5 separate regions of the Homo sapiens genome follow, and all the other regions are linked to region 3. Evidence: promoter capture Hi-C in 16 types of primary human blood cells and fetal thymus (Javierre and others, 2016). All regions are on one chromosome and are shown on one strand. The core of a region is centred on a gene start or on the middle of the fragment in contact, and the rest is flanking DNA. Distances in the headings are between cores, read along the strand shown.

The links. Contacts are between HindIII fragments. The CHiCAGO score rates a contact against its expected background, and 5 or more counts as called.
Region 1: a contact is called between a fragment that was not itself captured here and the fragment with the promoter of EMILIN2 in region 3, in 1 of 17 cell types (monocytes). The highest score is 8.7, in monocytes.
Region 2: a contact is called between a fragment that was not itself captured here and the fragment with the promoter of EMILIN2 in region 3, in 1 of 17 cell types (monocytes). The highest score is 10.2, in monocytes.
Region 4: a contact is called between a fragment that was not itself captured here and the fragment with the promoter of EMILIN2 in region 3, in 1 of 17 cell types (monocytes). The highest score is 6.9, in monocytes.
Region 5: a contact is called between a fragment that was not itself captured here and the fragment with the promoter of EMILIN2 in region 3, in 2 of 17 cell types (monocytes and M2 macrophages). The highest score is 8.6, in monocytes.

What each region holds. Positions count from the first base shown.
Region 1 is chr18:2,698,071-2,702,607 of GRCh38, forward strand. It overlaps SMCHD1 (structural maintenance of chromosomes flexible hinge domain containing 1), which reads left to right. Exons shown (of 48, transcript NM_015295.3): 11 at 2,469-2,589; 12 at 2,665-2,848. Among named protein-coding and RNA genes, the nearest start is that of SMCHD1, 45 kb to the left of the region's middle. The HindIII fragment of the contact is 1,203 bases long and covers 2,663-3,865 here.
Region 2 is chr18:2,680,569-2,685,028 of GRCh38, forward strand. All of the region lies in intron 5 of SMCHD1 (structural maintenance of chromosomes flexible hinge domain containing 1), which reads left to right. Among named protein-coding and RNA genes, the nearest start is that of SMCHD1, 27 kb to the left of the region's middle. The HindIII fragment of the contact is 4,888 bases long and covers 127-4,460 here.
Region 3 is chr18:2,845,183-2,849,721 of GRCh38, forward strand. It overlaps EMILIN2 (elastin microfibril interfacer 2), which reads left to right and starts at 1,824. Exons shown (of 8, transcript NM_032048.3): 1 at 1,824-2,140; 2 at 2,627-2,749. The coding sequence starts at 2,007. RefSeq lists silencers at 2,042-2,091, 2,712-2,801. The HindIII fragment of the contact is 11,570 bases long and covers 780-4,539 here.
Region 4 is chr18:2,997,048-3,001,600 of GRCh38, forward strand. The region is part of intron 1 of LPIN2 (lipin 2); the gene reads right to left. Among named protein-coding and RNA genes, the nearest start is that of LPIN2, 14 kb to the right of the region's middle. RefSeq lists enhancers at 1,098-1,197, 1,268-1,417, 1,685-1,784, 1,899-2,821. The HindIII fragment of the contact is 6,417 bases long and covers 1-4,553 here.
Region 5 is chr18:2,977,141-2,981,869 of GRCh38, forward strand. The region is part of intron 1 of LPIN2 (lipin 2); the gene reads right to left. LOC124904236 (a long non-coding RNA gene) reads left to right here and starts at 1,215. Exons shown (of 2, transcript XR_007066268.1): 1 at 1,215-1,830. The HindIII fragment of the contact is 4,754 bases long and covers 85-4,729 here.

The DNA of each region.
Region 1 (4,537 bases), core at 2,014-4,513, 150 kb before region 3:
ATATGAAGTTGTAATTTAGGACAGTGATTTGTTTTTCTAAATGATTATCGGTTGGGTTATTCAGGTTAGATAAATATTAAATTTTTTCTTATGCAAGTCTTAGATTGTTAGGTATTTGTAATTTTTGTAATTCCTGATTTTTGTGTACATTCATTTCTAGATGAATAAATCTTTAATGAACTCTTCTTTTAGTTCTGTTACGAAACCAAACTTTTAGATATGTATGCGTATTAATCCTTTATATGTTCCCTTGTCTTCTCTTTATCCTTGTTGCAGTTTTACACTTTATGCAGTCATATTTACTAACTTTTTCTTTATGCTTTCTGATTTTGTCTTACTGTAGAAAGGCTTTTTACATCTCAAAATTATATAAATCTGTAGCTTTTTTGTTTTTGTTGTCATTTTATGGTCAATGCATCTGTGTTTTTCTTTTTTGTATGTAGAGCAAGGTGGGGTTTTATTTATTTATTTAAATTTTTGAGTGATGGGGTCTTGCCGTGTTGCCCAGGCTGGTCTTAAGATCCTGGCCTGAAACAATCCTCCTGCCTTGGCCTCCCAAAGTACTAGGATTACAGGTGTGAGCCACCACACCTGGCCCCCACCTTTTTTTCCCCCCCCAGTAGAGAGATAGGGATTTAACAATTATTTTCTATGTGGTATTCATATTCAGTTTCTTAGCACCAGTTATTGAATGTTATAATTTACCCAAGAGTTAGAACTTGTATAATACAAAGTTCCCATAAGTACATAGGTCTAGATTCTTTACTATAAAGTACTATTTTATTTTTTTTTAATATGAGTAATGATACTGTCTTGTAGCTTTATCTTGTAATTTGGTATCTTTGGGAAAAAACATTTTCACTATTGTTCCTTTTTGAGAATACTTTTGCTCTTCTAGATAATTTTGGAATCAGCTTTGTACATTCACTTGAAGTAATTCTAGTGAGATTATTGGGATTGCATTGAATTTATAGGTTAACAATATTAAACTTTTTCATTCAGAATACTTCCTTAGTACATTCTTGGTTTTCTAGGGCCTGCAACCAGAGATCCTGATTCGAATCCCATCTTTGCCACTTTCTGTTGGACAAACTACTCCCTGCCTTAGTTTCCTTACCTGGGAAATGGGTAGTTCACACCTCATAGGGGTGTTGTGAAGATCAAATTTAAAAACTGGGGCAACTTCTCAGAATAGTGCTCAACACTATTTATTAAGTGCTCCTGCCCAGTACATATTGTTACTCAGTGGCTCCACTGGCCTTTTTGGTTTTGTTTTTTATTTTTTGGAGACAAAAGTCTTGCGTTGCCACACACGCTGGAGTGCAGTGACACAATGTAGGCTCACTGCAGTCTCTGCCTCCCAGGTTCAAGCAATTCTCATGGATCAGCCTCCTGAGTAACTGGGACTACAGGTGCCCACCACCATGCCAGGCTAATTTTTTGTATTTTATTAGAGACAAGGTTTTGTCATGTTGCCAAGGGTAGTCTCAAACTTCTGAGCTCAGGTAATCCTCCCACCTCAGCTTCCCAAAGTGCTAGGATTACAGGCGTAAGCCCCTGTGCCTGGCCATCTCTGACCTCTTAAATTTGCTGTTTCCAATTTTTGTGTGCTAATAGACAAAAAGATATAATTTTTTTCAAATGCTGCCTTAAAAAGAAGAGCAAGTAAGTTGAGTGATCAATCAGAGGGATTCTCCTCTAAGAGCAAAGTGATTTTGTTTGATTGAAAGCAGCTTTTATATAAGGGACTTCTTGTGAGGGCTTTTAGGGAGAAGGTTTTGTTTTAGGTGGGTAAACTAATTCCAGGGTAGCTGAGGTGTTAATATGTCAGGATCACATTGTTTAATCCTAATTTATCTGGATACACGAGAGTGTGTTGCTAATAAACATAAGATTATAGACAATTGTGCAAATTAATGCTCTTGATGCATAGTAACATGTCTTACAGTTCTGTGTACATTTTTCATGCTTACTTGAATCTGAAAATAATTTCTAAAAAGTAAACTTAATTTTAGCATCATTCACTAATTTGTTCAAACTAGGTAAACTCGCTGCTATTAGATGTCATAGATTTCTCAGATGACTTTCATGTGAACATACTAGTTCTGATAAAATTGTGAAACTGTTTTAGATACGGGATTTAAGCTCCTATATTTGTAGGAAGGAGGGATTTTGTTATAGGGGATAATCTTTTTGGATGTAAGACTCTTTTAGCCTCATGAATAGGTTTTAAAGATGACAGGCCCAGCAGCTAGTACATTGGTTCATATATAAGTAATTATTGACTTCTAAATGACAGACAGCATTCGTAATGTGGAACCACTTTGTAAACCTACCTTTTTGTGGGCAAACAGTATAAAACTACCTTTAGGTTTTATAGAATGCAATTTGAAACATTTATGTGTTTGTTTCATTATTTCTCACATTTTAGCAATAAACATTTTGTTCCATTTGCCCTTTTGATCTAGAATTAAAAGATGAAGATGATGAAGATGATTGTTTCATACTTGAGAAAGCAGCTAGAGGGAAAAGGCCTATTTTTGAATGTTTTTGGAATGGACGATTAATACCATATACATCAGTTGAAGAGTAAGTTTGATTTTTGCTGAAATTATGTTTTTACAACTTAATTCTTTTACTAACTAACATTTTGTTCTGTTCAAGCTTTGACTGGTGTACTCCTCCTAAGAAGAGAGGGCTTGCACCAATTGAATGCTACAATAGGATATCTGGTGCATTATTCACTAATGACAAATTCCAGGTCAGCACAAATAAATTGACGTTTATGGATCTTGAGCTAAAATTGAAAGATAAGAACACCCTTTTTACAAGGATTTTAAATGGACAGGTATGATTTTTAAATATAAAGTTGTGAATATTTGCAAATGTTTTATTTTTAAGTAAAAGAAGACACTAGCAGTGTAGGTTTTTATTGATATTTTGCATCAAAAGACTATGATGTATAAATTTTTTTATGAGCAGTCAAGTGTTCACATTACTAAAAAATTTAAAGCTAATTTTTTAGTAATGACTAAACCTACCTAGTAAAGACTAGGTTTGGATAGAATTTACATATCTTCATTAGTTTTTTTTGTTTTTTTTTTTTTAAGACAGGAGTTTCACTCTGTTTCCCAGGCTGGATTGCAGTGGCTCAATCTCAGCTCACTGCAACCTCTGCCTCCCAGGTTCAAGCTATTCTCCCGCCTCAGCCTCCCAAATAACTGGGACTACAGGTGCGTGCCACCACGCCTGGCTAATTTTTGTATTTTTAGTAGAGATGGGGTTTCACCATGTTGGCCTGGCTGGTCTCGAACTCCTGACCTCAGGTGATCGACTTGCCTTGGTCTCCCAAAATGTTGGGATTACAGGCATGAGCCATCGCACCCAGCCAAGATCTTAATATCTAGCCCTTGACATAGTAGAAGCCACAGAAGCATCTTAATGAGAACATGTATGAACAATTGTATTTGCTTTAAGGGCTATATTTGTATATTAATAACCTAGTTGTGCAATTTTTAGCTAGTCTTGAGGGTAAAAATGGGGTAAAACTGTGAAGTACTTTGAGCTAAAAGGTGATTTGAGATTGATCAGTATTAAAATACATGTATTGATTAATACAACAAGAATGATTTCACTTTGAAATTTGTTACAAAGTTGAGTGAAACTAGTATACTAGTGTACTTGTATTCTGTGAACAGACCTCAGAGACTTTTGATACTACTCTTTCAGTAGTTTAATGTTGAATTGCCAAGAAATAGATGATTTTATTATCAATTTATTGCTGGGCAATAAATACAGTGCATAGTACATAGTATTTGTAGTCAGTCAGTCCTGTAAGATGTTGAAATTAATTTTGCTCTTATAAAGCTTGTGAATCATAGAAGATTAGGACACTTTTAAGAATTATACACCGAGAAAGACCTTATCAAAATGAGTTACTACTCCTTTATAATACACTTAGAATTCATTTATAATATGGTGTTAGTTATCCAACATTTATTGAGCAGTGGGTGTTTTCAAAAGCTATCCAGAATAAGTTAATTCTATTCCTTTGTTACACTGTACTTTTAAAATATATATTTTCTAATTTTGAAACATTCAAGCTGCGCATAATGGTTCACACCTGTAATCTTGGCTACTTGAGAGGCTGAGGCAGGAGGATGGCTTGAGGCCAGGAGTTCAAGACCAGCGTGTGCAATACAGTGAGACACCTTCTGTATTTAAAAAAAAAAAAAAAAGAAGGAAATGTTCAAATACACAGAAAAGTTGAAAGAATATTATAAAGTGAATATCTGCATACTTTTCCCCTAGGTTACCTGTCACCTTGACATGCCTTCTGAATTGTACTTTGACTGTTACTGAGTGTCTGGAATTAATGCATTTGGTAATTTGTTTGGTTGATAGTGAATCCATCCTGAGAGTTTTAGAAGGGTAGTTTAACATTTTGGTTGTCAGACTTTCTGGTTCCTAGTTACTAATTTAATCTCCATGTCAGCTGGCAAACTGACAACAATGATTTGCTGATTTGGGAAAGAGT
Region 2 (4,460 bases), core at 1,321-3,820, 160 kb before region 3:
CTTGTAGTGAACCTCAAGGTAAGCTAGAGGTGAGTCATTATTAGGACCTTCTCAATTCTTTCTTGAACATGTGTTTAGTTCTGCACGTGGAAATGACCTAATTATTGAGTCTAGTGAATATGTTGAAGCTTTTACAAAACCCTGCAGACCTCGCATTTCCCAGCTTTTCCTTGTATATTTTTGGTCAGATTCTTGTTTTCTCCAACTGTTTTCATTGCCTCAGACAGCTGTTAATGATAAATGTTTGCTGCTGATTGATTTTGACAGTTTTTTCAGGCATTCTCATTACTTTCATCAGTGAGTGGATTCTTGGAAGTCCTTATGCCACCATTCTGGAAGTGTTCACTCGTTTACTGATTTTTGACAAATATATACACTTGTGTATCTCAAACCCTTGTTAAGATATAGGACAATAAGCTAGACTCAGTGGCTCACACCTGTAATGCCAGCACTTTGGGAGGCTGAGGCAGGAAGATTGCTTGAGCCCAGGAATTTGAGACCAGCTTATGCAACATGAGAACCCACCTCTACAAAAAATATTTTAAAAAATTAGCCAGGTGTAGTCCGGGCATGGTGGCTCACGCGTGTAATCCCAGCACTTTGGGAGGCTGAGGTGGGCGGATCACCTGAGGTCAGGAGTTCAAGACCAGCCTGGCCTTCATGGCGAAACGCTGTCTCTACTAAAAATACAAAAATTAGCCAGGTGTGGTGGTGTGTGCTGGTAATCCCAGCTGCTCAGGAGGCTGAGACAGGAGAGTCACTTGAACCTGGGAGGTGGAGGATGCAATGAGCCGAGATTGCGCCGCTGTACTCCAGCCTGGGTGACAGAATGAGACCCCATCTCAAAAAAAAAAAAAAAAAGGAAAATTAGCCAGGTGTTGTGGCTTGCACCTTTAGCCCCAGCTTCTCAGGAGGCTAAGATGAGAGGATCGCTTGAGACTAGGAGGTCGAGGCCGCAGTAATCCATGATCACGCCACTGCACTCCAGCCTGGGCGACTGAGTGAGATCCTATCTCTCAAAAAAAAAAAAAAAAAAAGGATATATAACATTACATAAACCTAGAAAATTCTCTCATAACTTGGGCACTATAAGAATTATTGCTTTAGAATTTAACTTGGATACCTGGGACATAATTATAATAGTATGTGTATAATTATTTTGTAGGGGAGAGGTATGACATTAGTTAGGTCAGCTGGATTCAGGTATGTGTTGGGTCAGCGCTACTCTTTCTGCACTTTCAACTTGCCCATCAATTAAAAGGCTCTCAACTCAGAGCCATTTTGTTGAAATATGAATAAGTAAAAATGCTACATGACCCATGCCGTATGTATTTTAAGCTGTAGAAATGGATCCCCAACAAGATTTTTCCTAATATTCCTAAAGAAAAAGCTGGTTTGTCTTTGTTGGTTTTCAGCAAATTAAGATGAGCTTTTGTTTTCTAATATTTGTGTTTACTTGAATGTTGGGAATACGTTTGTAACATCTAAGCACCCTACTTTAATTTGGTCATTTCCATATGTCTGGCACATTTATTCTAGAGGCTCTGATAGAGATTGGTGGCCAGTTTTGTTAGAGGTGGAGTTTTCTTAAGTTTGGTGTTTTTTTTTTCCTCCTTTGTTAGATTCAAGATAGTGAGACATATACATACGTAGTTACTCTACCCTGGCTTCCTGGCAATCATTTAGATAGTTTCTTTTACTAATTTGATCCTCTTCGCTGATAACTTTTTCTTTTCTTTCTTCTTCTTTTTTTTTTTTTTTCCTTTTTCTTTTTTGAGACAGAGTCCCACCTCTCAGCCCCAGGCTGGAGTGCAGTGGCGTGATTTCAGCTCACTGCAACCCTGCCTCCCAGGTTCAAGCAGTCCTGCCTCAGCCACCCAAGTAGCTGGGATTATAGATGCACACCACCACTCCTGAAAAATTTTGTACTTTTAGTAGAGGTGAGGTTTCACTATGTTGGCCAGGCTAGTCTTGAACTCCTGACCTCAGGTGATACACCCACCTCAGCCTCCCAAAGTGCTGGGATTATGGGCGTGAGCCACCGCGCCCGGCCCCCTGATACTTTTTCTTACTTGAGACACCTCTTATGTTTTGTTTCCATCAAAATTTCCCAAAGATTAAGTGTCCTTTCATTGTATGAAGATTATGAATTAAGATATTTTCTGAAATATTTTTGGACTTTGATGTAAATTTATTCCTGAAGGAGATTAATTTCCTAATTCTCCAGAGGACTGCTGTGGTGTAAAACTGTTCCTTGAACTTGTAGTTTTCTACTTTTATTTATATTCATGAAGGGATATTTATATAGTCCTTGAGTGGATATAGGAATTTTTCTAGACTCATTAACACAAGTCTGAGACTGTCTTGAAATAAATATTCTCAGCCTTACTTGCTGTGATAGAGTTGTTGCCTAGATTTGGTTTGCATGGGTCATTTAAGTTGAAAAAGGGATTTATGATTTTGTGCATTTCTAACTAGTGGAGAGAATTCTTTAGTTTTGCATGACCTGATGTATGTATGTTGTGTTTTATCAGTGAGCTTCTCCTTTCTCTAAACTTTTGTATATTTTCCCAGAAATATTTTAAGGAAAATATCAGAGAGTATTTTCAACTTATTTCCTAGAAGTATTGCCATAGTAACTGAATACTTAGAACTCATTTACTTTTTTTTTTCTTAATAAACATTAGCTCATAGACTTTGGTTAATCATAATTCTAGGAAATAAGTTGCAGCATCTCACAAGTTTTGTTACACTGTATTTTCTGTTTCATTCAGTTTAGTCTACTTTTTTCCTTTGCAACTTGGTATTTAACCTGTGGATTGTTTTAAAAGTGTGTGAATTTATAAGTGTTCCAACATATTTTCCTATTGTCTTTCTATTGATTTCAAGTGTAATTTCGTGATAGCTAGAGAATGTACTCTTAAGTGATTTCAGCTGTTTTACATTTGTTGCGTTTTATGATCCAGGATGTTATCTATCTAGATGAATTTTCTATGTGTCTTTGAAAAGAAGGTGTATTTTGCTCTTGTTGGGAGAAGTGTTCTGAAAATGTCAGTTAGATTCTACTGGTTGATGATATTATTCATTTCTTTATATCCTTGCTGGATTTTCTGTGTGGTAGTAACTAGGGGGTATTGAAGTCTCCAAGGATTGTTATGCCTTCTGTGCCTTCTTGGTTGACCAACCCTTTTATTCATTATGTAGTGTTGCTCTTTGTCACTGGTTATTTTCTTTGCTTTGAAGTGTACTTTTTCTGTTAGTGTAGCCATCCCAGCTTCTTTTCATTTGTGTTTTCATGCTATATCTTTTTTCATCCATTTTCTTTTAATGTACCTTTATTATTATATATGAAATGGGTTTCTTATAGACAACATATAGTTGGTTCATGTTTTATAACCACACTTACAATTTCATTTAGCGTCTTTGTATTATTACATTTAATGTAATTAAATGTATAATGAGCATTTCAGATTTTGTATTTTTGAATTTGAGATGCTCAACTTGTACTTAAATTTTTTGAAAGTCAAGCTCAAACTAGATGCTCAGCAAGACTATCTTTGGAGTTTGCGGGGAAGAGAGAGATCCTGTCAGACATACAAAATCTGAAGAAAATTCACCAAGAACAGACTCAAGTTATAAAAGAATGTTTAGAAAGATCTTCAGAAAGGAAAACAATACTGGATATTATTACGTTATCCAGAAAGGAAAATAATACTGGATATTATTACATCCATAATGTAATTAAATGTAATAATACAAAGAGTGATCATCTGTTTACCCATTTATTTGTTTTAATTGTTCTTTGTTCATTTCCTGGTATCTTTTATTGACTTTCTCTGGTGTTAATATATTCATTCTAGCTTTCTTTTCATTAGTGTTAAAATGGTAAATGTTTTTCCAACCTCTTAACCTATTGTCTCTTTATATTTAAAGAGGGTTTCTTTTACGCTATAGATATTTGTGTCTTAATATTTAACAATCTCTGCCTTTTAATTGGAGTGTTTAGATCAGTTGCTTTTAATTGGATTATTGATATGTTTAGATTTAAGTTTACCATCTTTGTTAATTTTTTATTTTTCCTGCCTATTTTTTGTTCCCATTTTCTTTTTTTTCCTGCCTTATTGCAGATTCAGTGTGTGTGTGTGTGTGTGTGTGTGTGTGTGTGATTCCATTTTATTTCCTTTTTGGCTTATTAACTATAGCTGTTACTTTACTGGAAACTCTAGGATTCATAGTATAAATCTTTAATTTATCACAGTCTGTATTAAGTAATACTAAACCACTTCGCATATAAATACATCACAACAGTATACTTCCGTTTATGCTATCTTGGTCTTTGTACTTTTGTTTTTGTACATTTTACTTTGGCATAAATGTCAAAGTACAGTATTGTTATTTAGCTTTAAATATTCATTTGCCTCTCTCCTTAATGTAAAAAGGCTTCTTCTCAACTTCCTGAC
Region 3 (4,539 bases), core at 574-3,073:
TTGGAGTTGTTCTCTGCTAATTGTAGACACACACAACTTGTGTGTTTCCCCCATTTCCCCCCCTCTTCCTCTTCTTCATTTCTATACTCTGTTTCTACTCTATGAGTCTTTACGGCCAAGATGGTGTTAGGACAGGCAGGATAGGGAAGTCACACAGAAAGATACAGATTGGGTTACGAAAGACAGCTTTTTATCCCTTTCTGTTATTTCCCCCCCACGGTGGCTCTTTTGAAGGCTGGGATGACTTCAGTCCACTATTTGCATGATCTTCCGCTTAAGAGTCCAGGGACAGATGATGTCCTTACATGGTATAATGTTCTGCTTGGCCCTTGTAGTTTCTACTTAGGGACTTCTCTTTCTTTCATCTGCAAATCAAAAGGTCCAACAACACCATCAAAGAATATTAGAAACAAAATAGACCAATGGCTTCATTTAGTAAAGTAGGAACATAGCAAACGTTTTTATTTTTTATTTTTTGCGACAGATTTTCACTCTTTTTGCCCAGGCTGGAGTGCAGTGGTGAGATCCCGGCTCACTGCAACCTCCATCTCTCTGGTTCAAGCGATTCTCCTGCCTCAGCCTCCCAAGTAGCTGGGATTACAGGCATGTGCCACCGTGCCCGGCAAATTTTTTTTTTTTTTTTGTACTTTTAGTAGAGACGGGGTTTCTCCATGTTGGTCAGGCTGGTCTTGAACTCCCGACGTCAGGTGATCCACCCGCCTCGACCTCCCAAAGTGCTGGGATTACAGGCGTGAGCCACCCCGCCTGGCCCATAGCAAAGCTTTATTCACTTAACGAGTCATGGCCAACAGCGTCTGGTTAGCTCACAGAGGCCACAGTTTTATCTGTGGAGTCTGGTAACCACGCCACTCACGACCCTGTACATTGATTAGATGCAGCAGGTCATCTCAAACACACAGCTCTCTCCAACACCCCTTAGAATACAACACTTGGGTGGTGATTTTACTTAACATTCTGGTACTTCATCCCAAAAAGACATCGGTAGAGATTAGTGTAACTCAACAACAGGCAGAAAACATACAAGAAAGTTTAAGACGGATGTCTAGCAGTGCCTGAACTGTTAAGAAGCAAACGTGAGTAAATGCCTTAGTTTCAATAGAAAAAGAAAGTTCACAGTGGGACCTCAGAAGCAGAGGCTGTGAGATCACCTTTCAAGAATTGGAGGAGAATTGCAGTAAGTGATAGAGCCGGACGCTGAGCTGCAGCAGCCTCTGGGAATTGGCGGGGCTGTGGCTTGTCCTGTCCTGCCGCCCCCCGCGTGGCCTCGGAAACTGTCAGATGGTGCCTAAGGCAGAGTTGGGCAAAGAAAGAACCAGCGTTCGTTTCCTCCTGGACTCTCTAGGTCCATGGAGCTGGTGGGGGAACGGCCCTGTCTTGCCCGAGGAGGAAATTCGAGTCGAGCCCCCACTCCTCTCCCCGCGGGACTGATAAACATGTCCCTCATTCGCCCCGGGAGGCTGGCACCCAGGCACGACGCGAGGACGGCCAGACTCGCCGACGGCGGCCGCGTCCCGGGGGGCCGGGAGCGAGCCTGTCGGAAGGTGGGAGGCGGAGTCGCTCGGCATCTGGGAAGAGACCAAAGGAATGAGTCATTGGAAATGCTGTAACGTAGACCCTTATCCCAAACCCTTTCGCCCCTCCACCCCGAGCCCCCTGCCGAGAAGCGAAGGGACTGGAGACGGGGAGACTTGGTGGGGGGAGAGTCACGTTTCGGAGAGGGAAGTGAAATAAAGAGGGCGGCACCCGGGGGGACCTGTGCGTCATTGAGGGACCGGGGAGAAGCGCAGGGCGCACGGGGCTGCAGAAGGAGAAGTAGGAACGAGAAGCCGGAGGGGGCGGCCGCGGAGCACTGGTTGGAGCGCCGCGAAGCGCCCGAGCCTCTTGCCTTCGCGGGCGGCGCCCTGGCCGCCGGCAGCCTTGTGGCCGGTGCCCCGATCCGCCGCGCTCCGGACCCGGGCAGGCGGGGCGCGCCCGCTGCGCGCGGGATGTGGCAGCCCAGACGGCCCTGGCCCCGCGTGCCCTGGCGCTGGGCGCTGGCGCTGCTGGCCCTGGTTGGCGCGGGGCTGTGCCACGCCGGCCCGCAGCCCGGGTATCCCGCGCGGCCCAGCGCCAGGAACAAGTAAGTGCGCGCCCCTTGGCTGGCCCCAAACCGCCTACCCCTCCCCGGCCCCCAGTTGAGCCCCAGAGCTGCCCTGCCAAAGACGACGAGCGGCAGCCGGGGGCCTCCCTTGGACTTCCCCGGGCGGCTCCCTCTGCGGGGGACCGCGCGCTCCGCAGCCGGCGCCTCAGGCAGAGCTGACTCCGGGGGCGTGGGCGCAGAGAGCGTCCCGCAGACCCGGGCGATCCGAAAACGACTCCCAGGAATTCCATGAGCCCCTGGGACCATGGGTGCTTTTCTTTCCCGTCTTGGTCGGGTCCAGGCGCGCGCTCTCCAGAGGCGCACCCGGGCACCCTCCGGCGTCTGCTCGGTGAAGCTCCCGCCTCCGCAGAGGGCGACGGGCCCCCCCGACCCTCGCTCGGTCTGGTGCCGCAGTCCCCTCTCCCCTGGCCTCATTGTTCTCCGGGTTTACCCCGTGCCCCTCTCCCTCTCTCTCCTGCACCCCAGGAACTGGTGCGCCTACATCGTGAACAAGAATGTGAGCTGCTCCGTGCTGGAGGGAAGTGAGAGTTTTATTCAGGCTCAGTACAACTGTGCCTGGAACCAGATGCCCTGTCCGTCGGCGCTGGTGTAAGTCCTGGAGCCGGGGAGCGGGCGGGGCGCGCCCGGGCCGGGGCGGTGGGGGTGGGGTGGGGTTGCTGCGCTGGGCTCCAGTCCCTCCGGTAAATCCCTTCCAGATCCGGTGAAAAGCCCGCAGCGGAAAAGCGCTCCGAGCGCTCGCGGGGCACCGGCCACGCTGGGCTATTTAGGGAGTGGGTGCTGCCCGAGTGAGTGGGGAGGATGCGCGCGCCTCGGGAGTGTGGGGTCGCGGGGGCGTAGGAGAGGATGAACAAAGCTCCCACTCCCACTTCTGTTTTCTCCCTTTCAATGTTTGTTTGTAACATAAGGCAGCTGAATCTAATTGGATCCATATTGTGTGTTCTGGGGCACACAGAAGATTCCAAAATGTATACTGCTAAAGACTATTCCGTATAGGATTCGCTGAGAGGTTTGGCTAAGTAGTGTTCTAAAACGAGTGAGTTCTGTCCGTATGTCCCCATAAAACGGAATCTTCCAGTTTTGTAGATGTCTAAGCTAAAACCTCAGGAACACTTTGCTTAAAAGTGTGGCTCCCCAGCATCCCTCCCCGCAACTTAGATTTGGAGATTCTCTAGAGATTGTGGGAGAGAATGGCCGTTAAAGACAGGGGGAAGAATTAATCATCTTTTTGCTTATAAAGATTTCCCCATCTTAAAAAAAAAAAAAAACAGGAAGCAATGCAATAAAGTACAAATGCCGTTAAATACATGACACTCATTCAATTGTCATCAGGCAAGTCTTTGGGGGTTTTGTATCAGTCTGATACCGGAAGATGGGCCAGTGTGAATAAATGGCTGTTGAGGAACACATGTGATGGCTGAAATTAATTGTTTTCCACTAAGAATAAGTTGTTTGTCTTAGAGCACAGTTGTCATTACAGCAGAGAATAGTCAGTAGGCGGATCTGTCTTTGGCAAAACCAAGGGACAGACTGGAACTTGTACTCCAGGAAACCTTATTCCAGAGAACAGTAGATGAGCCTGTAGTCTTATGGGAAGTGGTCGCTGGGTCCACCCCACGTGGGCTTCTGGAGGAGCTGCCAACAGGGTTCAGCTAATTCCTGCTCGGCAAAAACAAAGTAAAACAAACAGAAACTTAGACGAGGTCCCCATTTCCTAATATACAGTGGAAAACGCTGAAATTGAATGCCCAGCTAGGCTATCTCTTTGAGTTGGATACATTGTCAGAGAGATAAGGTACTGTCATCCAACCTTAATCTCTTAGTAAGATTGAGACCTCATCGTCTATGGCCAGCAGTCAACGACATCAGAACCAAGCAAGGTTTTTACACTGTGGGAGTGATACAAACTAAGTATTCAACTCAGTTTGAATGCATTTGTTTAAAATTAGAATTGAGTTATTAGTCAGGAATATTTTATTCATCTTATACAAGAACTGCATGGTGTGGCTTGCTATAACCTTAAAACTTACTGGTGACAATTCGGAGATAAATGAATTTTTCATTTTGGGAGGTAATGCATTTTTGTTTAAAAGATGGCTTGTTTTTATTTTCTCAAATTATTTTAGCTGCTTGGAAAACCAAAGGATGATTTAATTGTTCTATTTGACCAAAACTCAGTGAAACTTGGCTGTCAGTGGGGAGTGAATCGCCTCCAGATTGGCAGGTCAATGCAAGGCAGTGGGAGTGCATTTTTGCCACCCAGTGAGTAGGACAACAGAATTATTATAAAAAATGACAGATGTTTCTGTTGTTTTATTAAACAAAGCCAAAATAAGTGACCTGGATGTTTTATTTCAATAATAACCATATAAACAATACAA
Region 4 (4,553 bases), core at 873-3,372, 150 kb after region 3:
CTCGGCTCATTGCAACCTCCACCTCCCGGATTCAAGCAATTCTCCTGCTTCAGCCTCCCGAGTAGCTAGGATTACAGGTACCCACCCCCACGCCTGGCTAATTTTTGTATTTTTAGTAGAAACGGGGTTTTGCCATGTTGGCTAGGCTGGTCTCAAACTCCTGACCTCAGGTGATCCGCCGGCCTTGGTGTCCCAAAGTACTGGGATTACAGGCTTGAGCCACTGTGCCTGGACTCATTTTTGTTTTTTGTTTTTTTTTAGTAGAGATGGGGTTTTACTCTGTTGGCCAGGCTGGTCTTGAACTCCTGACCTCATGTGATCCACCCTCCTCAGCCTCCCAAAGTGCTGGGATTACAAGCATGAGCCACTGCACCTGGCAGAGGCTTGTATTTTTCTAAACATAACAAATTCAAAGGAACATTAATGAAGTCAAAGCTATAGCAGTCACTTTCAAGACATCATCAGAGTACCAGGCCACTATGCCTATAACTCTGCAGTGTGCCACAATGAAACCAAGACAGTGCCCCAATTCTGATCAAAAGGTGACTTCTGCTGCATAAACAATTCACAAACCTTACATATGGCATCAATCATTGTTTAATGACTCCTGTGGGGGGAGAGCAGGCTCTTCCATAATTACTAAAAGCAGTATAACTCAAAAAGAAACAAAAAGTCACCAATTCATCAGCTTACTTAGCTGATGTCACAGAAGTAGCAGGAGGATTCCTTACCCCCCATGCCACAGACTTAGTTTTTCAAACATCTCCAATTTCTTGCTTTTAGCTCTCAAGGATGCAGTCCCCCAGCTTCCCAGAGGGAAGTCTGCTAGATCGGTAAGCATGAATTCACTACTTCCCTACTGTTTCCTTTGGAAGTGCCTGAAGTGTCTCCTTGTCTCAGTTAAACAGAACATGGTGACCGTGAGGCAGAGTTTCCAGTGCCAGGCAGCTCCAGGCACCCTGTGCCTGTGTTCTGCAGAGGAGTCTTTCCCAATGTCAATCAAAACACAGCTCAAGTTTCATGCCCTGCTTTATTAAATTCTGCATGGTGCCCACTGGGACCACAATGGAATCTTCAGAAACGTAAGGAGAGGTACCTCCCTTTCCTGGCTCTGGGAGGACACTTGGGTAAAGGGAAAGGCTGTGGCCATACCAACAGCACTGCTGCAATCAATGCCACCAATCACTCAGATTTAGGCTATTTTTAAGTAGTTTTGCAAAACAAATGCCAAGTAAGGCTGCACCAGTGTGTTATCACAAGCTGACTTGCATACTAAGCTACTTCAACAAGAGAGAAGGACTTCCAAGAGCAACAGCAAGTCAGCGAAACAGCACTTGAAAGTCAGAAAACAAGGCCTCTTTCACTCACTGATCTGCTCAACAGCAGTGTCTATTCTATTCTGAGAGCTGGGGATCAAGCAGTGAACTTGGCTGACAAGGTACCTGCCCTTGTAGTGGTTATATTCTAATGTGGGGAGGGAGAAAACAACAACAACAACATATGTTAGGCTGGGACAACTATTATAAAGGAAATAAAAGAGGGTGCTGCTCCCTGAAGAGAGGGAGGAAGAGCAGGAAGAGCCACTTTTAAGGAAAGAAAAGCGTTGTAGAGCCCAGAACAGGAAAATACATGACAGATTTTTTTTTAAGCAACAAAGCTCCAAGAAGGCTCATATCTGAAAAAAGAAATAGAGTATAACATGGAGGGACAGAGCATGATGAGAACCTGGCTAACATGTTCACGAAACTATGCCAGGATATAGATACGGTTTACTTTCTCATAAGACACTACTGCTGTTCTTTCTTTAGTCATTTTGCCAACCTTCAAATGACTTTAGAAACAAACCAAGAGTGAAAATGAGACAACTCAGATACTGTCATTAAACATTCAGGAACATGCAGAAATTTTGGCAGTCACAAGTCTGAACAAAAATCTCCAGTTGTAATCTAAAAATTACTTCCTAAGAGTTTCTTTCTGATCATTAGTGAAGATAGGTGTAACTAAAAGCATCTTTAAAAATATTGCTCTAACTAGACATCCTGTTAAACCCAGAGGATGTCACATGTGTTATCCCCACTCTCAAAACCCACTGTTTGGGTTGAAGTATATCCTCCAAAAAAGAAACGCTGAACTCCTAACCTCTGGTAGCTCAGAATGTGACCTTATTTGGAAAGGGGATCTTTACAGAGGTATTCAAGTTAAAACGAGGTCATTAAGGCTGGCCCTAATCCAGTAGGACTGATGTCCTTATAAAAAGAGGAAATCTGGTCCAGGCGCCGTGGCCCACGCCTGTAATCCCAGCACTCTGGGAGGCCAAAGCGGGCGGATCACGAGGTCAGGAGATCGAGACCATTCTGGCTAACATGGTGAAACCCCGTCTCTACTAAAAATACAAAAAAAAAAAAAAATTAGCCGGGCGCGGTTGCAGGCGCCTGTAGTCCCAGCTACTCAGGAGGCTGAGGCAGGAGAATGGCATGGCCCGGGAGGCGGAGCTTGCAGTGAGCCAAGATCACGCCACTGCACTCCAGCCTGGGTGACAGAGAGAAACTCCGTCTCAAAAAGAAAAAAAAAAAAGAGGAAATCTGGACAGAGAGACAGACATGCACACAGAAGAACGCCATGTGAATATAAAGGCAGAGATTGGGGTGATGCATCTGCAAGCCAAGGAACGCCAAAGGCTGCCAGCAACCCACCAGCAGCTAGGAGAGGACGCTAATAAAAATAAACATCCAAGAATGAGAAAGCGCTCTTGGAAATTAACACACAATTGTAAAATTAAGACATTCTATAGAAGGGTTGGAGAATAAATACCAGCCTGGGAAACACAGCAAGACCCTGTCTCTACAAAAATTAAAAAATAGCCAGGCACGGTGGGTCTCACCTGTAATCCCAGCACTTCAGGAGGCTGAGGTGGGAGGATCACTTAAGGCTGGAAGTTCAAGACCAACTTGGGCAACATTAGTGAGACCCTATCTCTGTTTTGTTTTTTTTTTTCTTTTAAAAAGAAGAAGAGGAGGAGGAGGAGGAAGAGGAGAAGGAGGAAGAGGGGAAAGAGGGGAAGGAGGGGAAGAAGGAGGAGGAGGAGGAGGAGGAGAAGGAGAAAATGTAGAAAGCAGATCTCCCAGTAAATCCAACAAGGATAAAGGAATGGGCAAAAGGAGGAAAAAGATGAATATCAGAGCATCAATCCAAAATGGCCCCAATATCTGACTTGTAGACTTTTTAAAGTACAGAAACAGGAGAGGAAAAAAAGGTAGGGAAAGGCAGGAGTTGGATATTATCAAATAAATCATACAAGAAATTTCCTGGCGTCAGAAACATGATTTTCCAAATTGAAAGTTCCCACCAGGTGCCCAGCTCAAAGGATAAAGAAACACCTGCACTGTTGTGGGCTCCACCTATGGCAGTCACGACAGAAACATGCTAATAATAGACAACGTTAAAGGCTACACAAAGGATTCCAAAATCACCATATGGGCACGACTACACAAAGCAGGATACACACCATGCCCTCCATCAGATGTACGGCACGTAGTGCCAGCTACTTCCCCAACATCATGAGTGTACACAGCTACAGATGATTCTACCTGTGGGGAGAGGCCTCACCAGGATTGATAAATACCCACTACAGTCTCTGGGTGTTTTTATGCCCTCTGGCCTGCGGAGACTCTGGTGACATAGGGCCTGCTAGCCAGGTCTAAGTAACGAAACAAGGCCAGGGGTAAGGATTCACTGTGAAGCCAGGTAAGGTGGGTACTTCCCGTGTTCCCTCCTAAGAGACTGTGTCTCGTCCAAAAACTGAGATGGCAAATCCCAAACCAAGGTGCTTCATCAAGAGATGGTAATGAGATACTTTAAAAAGAAACAAAGAAAGGTGCTAAAAAAAATGGGTAGGGGGGAAAGGATAGGAAAATGGGGAAAAAGAGGGGGGAGAGGGAGGGAGAGAGAGAGAAATTAAAAAGACTTGAGACTTCTCAAAAAAAGGTAACTTCTCAAAAGTAACAATTCTAAAGGAAAACTATTTCCATTCTAGCATTCTATAGCTAGCCTATCAGTTGGGTAGGAGGCTCAAATAAAGACATTTTCAGACACGTAAGCTCTCAAAGAATTTCCTCCCTGTAAACCCTTTCTCAAAAAGCTGCTAGAGGATGTGCTCCATCAAAATGAGGAGGCATGCCAAGAGAGAAGACAATGTGTAATCCAGGACTCAGAATCCAACACAGAAAATTACTGGGATTCAGGATGAGTGAGGTGTTGACTGCAGAGTTCTGTAGTCCTATCAGAAACTGGGGGCCTGAATTTGTGACTGGTACTAAGAAATGTAAACCAATAAAATAATTGTTGACTCCAGAGAAAAGAAAAATTTGAACTGGCAAAGAAATAAAAATCACTGCATATGCTCAGCTGTAAGCAATATTTAGCCATGAAAATATAAACAATGAATATTAAGAAAATTAGAAAATGGTATTGAGAGCTTAGTATAAAGAATTGTGCGTGTGAGAGGAGGGTTATATAAGAGATGAACCTTCATCTTGCAGCGTAGGAAATCAATA
Region 5 (4,729 bases), core at 1,212-3,711, 130 kb after region 3:
GAGGTTGCCTCCTACACTGCACTCCAGACTGGGTGGCAGTGAGACCTTGTCAAAAAAAAAAAAAAAATCATAAACACCTGGGAAAGCTTCTAAAAATAAAACTTCCTAGAGAGGAAGCTAAAATGAACCCTGTGGTGCTGGACTGGAATTGGAGGTCTCGGTATGAACCCATGGTTTTAAAGTACATACACAGGTAACTAGATGCACAAGCACTGATGTGTTTATACCTGAGCTAGAAAACACACTCAAATATCCTAACTCTCTGTTAAGAGGACCTAGAATCAAGGATACTCTCAAAACAATGTGCATATCTATGGCTCAGATCTTGCTTTCTGAATATCATTCTCCAATAAAAGGAACCAGGGTTCCTTGGAAAAGTGGTTGATTCATTCCATGGCTGTGGGCAGGAAAATACAAGATAATGCTGGAGCATCTCGTGGAGTCAGAGACTGGGAAATGCTCAAAATCAAAAGAGCAAACGTATGTCAGAGAAAAAACAGGAGTATACTCCCAAGAGCTAAACACAGGACAATCTGAGCAACAAAACAGGATTACTAGATTACAATTAGCTGAATAAAATATTCTTGAGTCCTCACTGATAGAATAAATTAATATATAAGTGAGAAATGACAGCTCTTACAGATGAATTATAATTAATGAAGAAAAAATGAAGAAACTAGAAACTCACTATTGGAATATATCACAGTATTATTTATGGAAGGCAAGATCCATCAATGGATGTTAAAAACAGAAGACAAAGTTTGAGGAGAGGCCGGGCTCGGTGGTTTACACCTGTAATCCCAGCACTTTGGGAGGCCAAGGAAGGTGGATCACCTGAGGTCAAGAGTTCAAGACCAGCCTGATCAACATGATGAAACCATCTCTACTAAAAACACAAAAAGAAGCCGGGAGTGGTGGCACCTGTAGTCCCAGCTACTCAGGAGGCTGAGGCAGGAGAACTGCTTGAAGTCAGGAGGCGGAGGCTGAAGTGAGCCAAGACTGCGCCACTGCACTCCAGCCTGGGCGACAGAGCAAGACTCTGTCTTTTAAAAAATAAAAAATAAAAAAAAAAGTTGAAGGAGAAACAAGATAAACAAGATGTCTGGATATTCTCAAAGTATTTTCCCCAAGATACACATTCATTACAAAAGGAAAAAATTTTAACTCTATAGTAGAGAAACCTGGAAGACACCACCATAATCAAGTGATCGGGAAAACTTAAGACACACTGACCTCAGGGACTCCTGGTATGACTCACTGAAAAGGACTTTTGAGGTATTTTGACCAAAAACACACAACCTCAATCTAATTATGAGACAACATCAGACAAACCGAAGTAGAGACAAATTCAACAAAATATCTGACCAGTGCTCATCAAAACATCAAGGTCATGAGAAGCAAAGACTAAAGAACTGTCACGATTGGAAGAGACTAAGGAGACAGGACAATTCAAGGTAAGGTTGGGCTCTGGAACAGAAAAAGGACATTAGTAAGAAGAATCTGAATAAAGTCTGTAGTTTCATTTTCAAAACAAAACAAAACAGTTATTCTTGGCCTCCACTACTGCCTTCAATTCTGCTTCAGTCTGTCTGGGAAATCTGTATTTTCTTTTGAAAGCTCCACAGGGATTCACTCAGTGATGAGTCAGATGTGGGCATCATCGTCCTTGGGGCTCACTTCTCACCCCCGGTGCACGTTGCAGTCACTGAGGTGCTTGGGGAATCCTCATGATCAGGCCACCCCATCTGCAGATTCTACTGCAAGTACTTTTGAAAGCCTCCAAATGATCCCAGAATGTAGCACATCTCAAGCTGTGCCTCAGGACCACAGGTAGGTGGAATGACTCCCAAACCCTCTTGTTTTCTTGACAGTGAACAGAGCTGAAGAAGGGTGGTGTAGTAGTTCCTGTTCCTTTCCTGCCTCACTTCCTGGCCTCAAGTGATCTACCTGCCTGGGCCTCCCAAAGTGCAGGATTACAGGTGTGAGCCACCATGCCCAACTGAGATTTTTATTTAGATCCTTTCAGAGTTGTGTCCATCTCCTCTAGGCCAGGCCAGCAGCCTCACTTTTTGGGACACCTAAAGGCACAGTGATGTAACTAAGGTGTGTTTTCCCAATGCACGAAGACTACACCTGGATCACATCTACAAAACAGGGCTCACCAGGCACTCTAACGCACTGAGTATGCTGAGTATGTAATCAGGACCAAGTATCCAGGCAAACTCAACATGGTAGCATTCATACAGCCATTTGCTGGATATCTGCCCAGCTGTGTTATTCATAAACCCAGAGCAGCAAAAAATTCCGACATATTAGTGGAGGCAAACAAAAAAAAATTGATTTACATGCATCTACTGGACTCAGTTGTAGTACAATAAATATTTGCTAAATGAAGACAATTTTGTTTCCTCTACATTAATAGGCTTAGCTATGCAATATACAGTGTGTGTGGAGGCAGTCTGTGTGCATGTATGTTTTAATTGTAAACTACTTCTAAATCCTTCCTTACTGAAAACAGATGGGGGCACAAATATAAAAATGAATAATAAATAATTTTCAAATAGCCGAAACATATTCATGTCCACAGTCCCAAAACTACTCCCCCCCAAATTCCTGAGTTCATCTGTGGCGAGCATGCTTTGAAAACAAAGACTTTCAGAGAATTTACTCCCCCAAACTGCCTAACCAGTAATCTTGTATGGTCCCTCAATATATCCTCTTAGCAGGCCTCAGAGTTTTCATTTCAGTGCACACTGTCACTTGGCTAGTGAGCCTACCAAAGCACACCTGTAGGTTTACTAGAATCCTCTTCCTCCAATGCAGCTACTTCTGCTGCGCTTAAGGAACCATCACCCATTCACAGCTCAGTGGCAAGAGCACAAACACTCCTAAAACTTAGGGGAGTTAGGAGGGAGGAAAGGTATCATTTTCAAGCCCAAAGTTACTAGCTATGGAGAGTGGGAGCTAAAACATGGCTTGAAAATGGAACTCAGAAAATGTTTGTCTCAAAAATTTTAGCGAAACTTGGCCCTTATCCAGAAAGAAAGAGGAAATTCTTGCATTAGCCCTTCTTCCCCCTTGTTCTAGGACTCAGAACTCTGGTTGAGTTCTCTGGCTAATTATGAGACAGGCATAGCAACATTATTTCTATGAGGAAATAAAATTCCACTCAATTAAATAATTACTTTTTTGAACACTGGCCATGCTAGACTGGAGGAACACAGTTAGTTTTAGACTTGTTCACCTCCAGTTGTTCTAGGAATCTGGGCAGCAATCAGTAATGACAACGTGTTATGGTTCCCCACCACCAACCTCAGCCCCACCCCAAATCCTGGGTGGACTAAGGTTTCCTAACTTAGCATGATGCACGCTGCCTCGTATCATGTGCCCCACCTACAGGGTGACTTGCCACCTCTGACCACTGTTTGTGTTATTAAATCTGGTTGAGCTTTTTGGCATCAACCAGAGGTGCCCATGTCCTTTGATAAATAGCTCACAGAGATGAGAATTGAGGGACACTGCCCTCAGGGCTTCCTGGAGTCCCCTGAAGCTGGTGAGGATGTGAAGACTCAAGATCAAGTCTCGCTTCCGCTGGAGAAGAGGTCTGGGCTCTGTGCCGGGGGTTCTCTCTAACAAGAATGGTCAGGTGACCTCTAGAGTCCCCCCCCAGCTCTAAACTGCAGAAAAGCTCCAATTCTATAAGCATTTCTGAGGATTACAAGTTTGGCTAAGAACTCCTGTAGTATATTCTGCCCTAAATGGGGTGAAAATATGGCCAGTAGATTATTCTGGGACTTCAGGTTATTTGAATATAAAATAATTTAGCTTTTTCCTTAGCAAATAAAGGTATTGTCTTCACTTGTTTCAAAAAATATGAAAACATGGTCTTTGAAATTTCCCAATTTCTAACAAAGCACAGAAATCTTCTCATGGTTTTCCAAATCATGATATGATACATTTATATTCCCAAATCACAAAACCATGAGGAAAGACTCTTTCAAAACTGAAACTGTCACCTTACAAAAGGGGTGCCCAGAAAGGATGTGATTTGTAAGGAGTGTTCAGGTCACAGAAGGCCTGGACCCTGAAAACCAGGGTTCTCCCTCTAACCACACACACCCAGGTTATAAAGTCAAACTCCTATATAATCATTACAGGCTACTAAGCAGATATCAGATCCTTATCCCAAACGTTAGCATTAAGAAAACTCATGCTTCTCATGGGACAGGGAGGTGACTCATTAGACTTCAATGTTCTAACGGCAACATAAAATGGGACCGTTAATAAAATGCAGCCTAAGCAAACACCTCTTGACCTCTTTCTGGAAAACACCAGCAGACACAAGTCTTAAGAACTTCCTGTGAGGGAGAGTTTATGTGTGTTAGTGCTACTTAATATATGAATGTTTAAAGTATTTCGTAAAAAGTCAGCAAGGTTCTCTATTCTCCCTTCTGACCTTTACAACAAATGTGAGTGAGCCAATATGTGTATACATTCTATAATATTACAATGTTGATTTCAAAAGCAAACTGCCTCCCCCGTGGTAGCACCTGACTCTTCCATTCATATTCAAACCACGTCTTTCCATTAGTTCCTGAGAACTCTGAGTAAGTACACTTTCACTAACAGATCCAAAAGCAAAAAGCAGAGTGTGATAACATTTTTAAAGATAATAAACATTTGTATAACCTTAAAACTAAAATCAAGTTATGAGCCACAGATTTTAGAA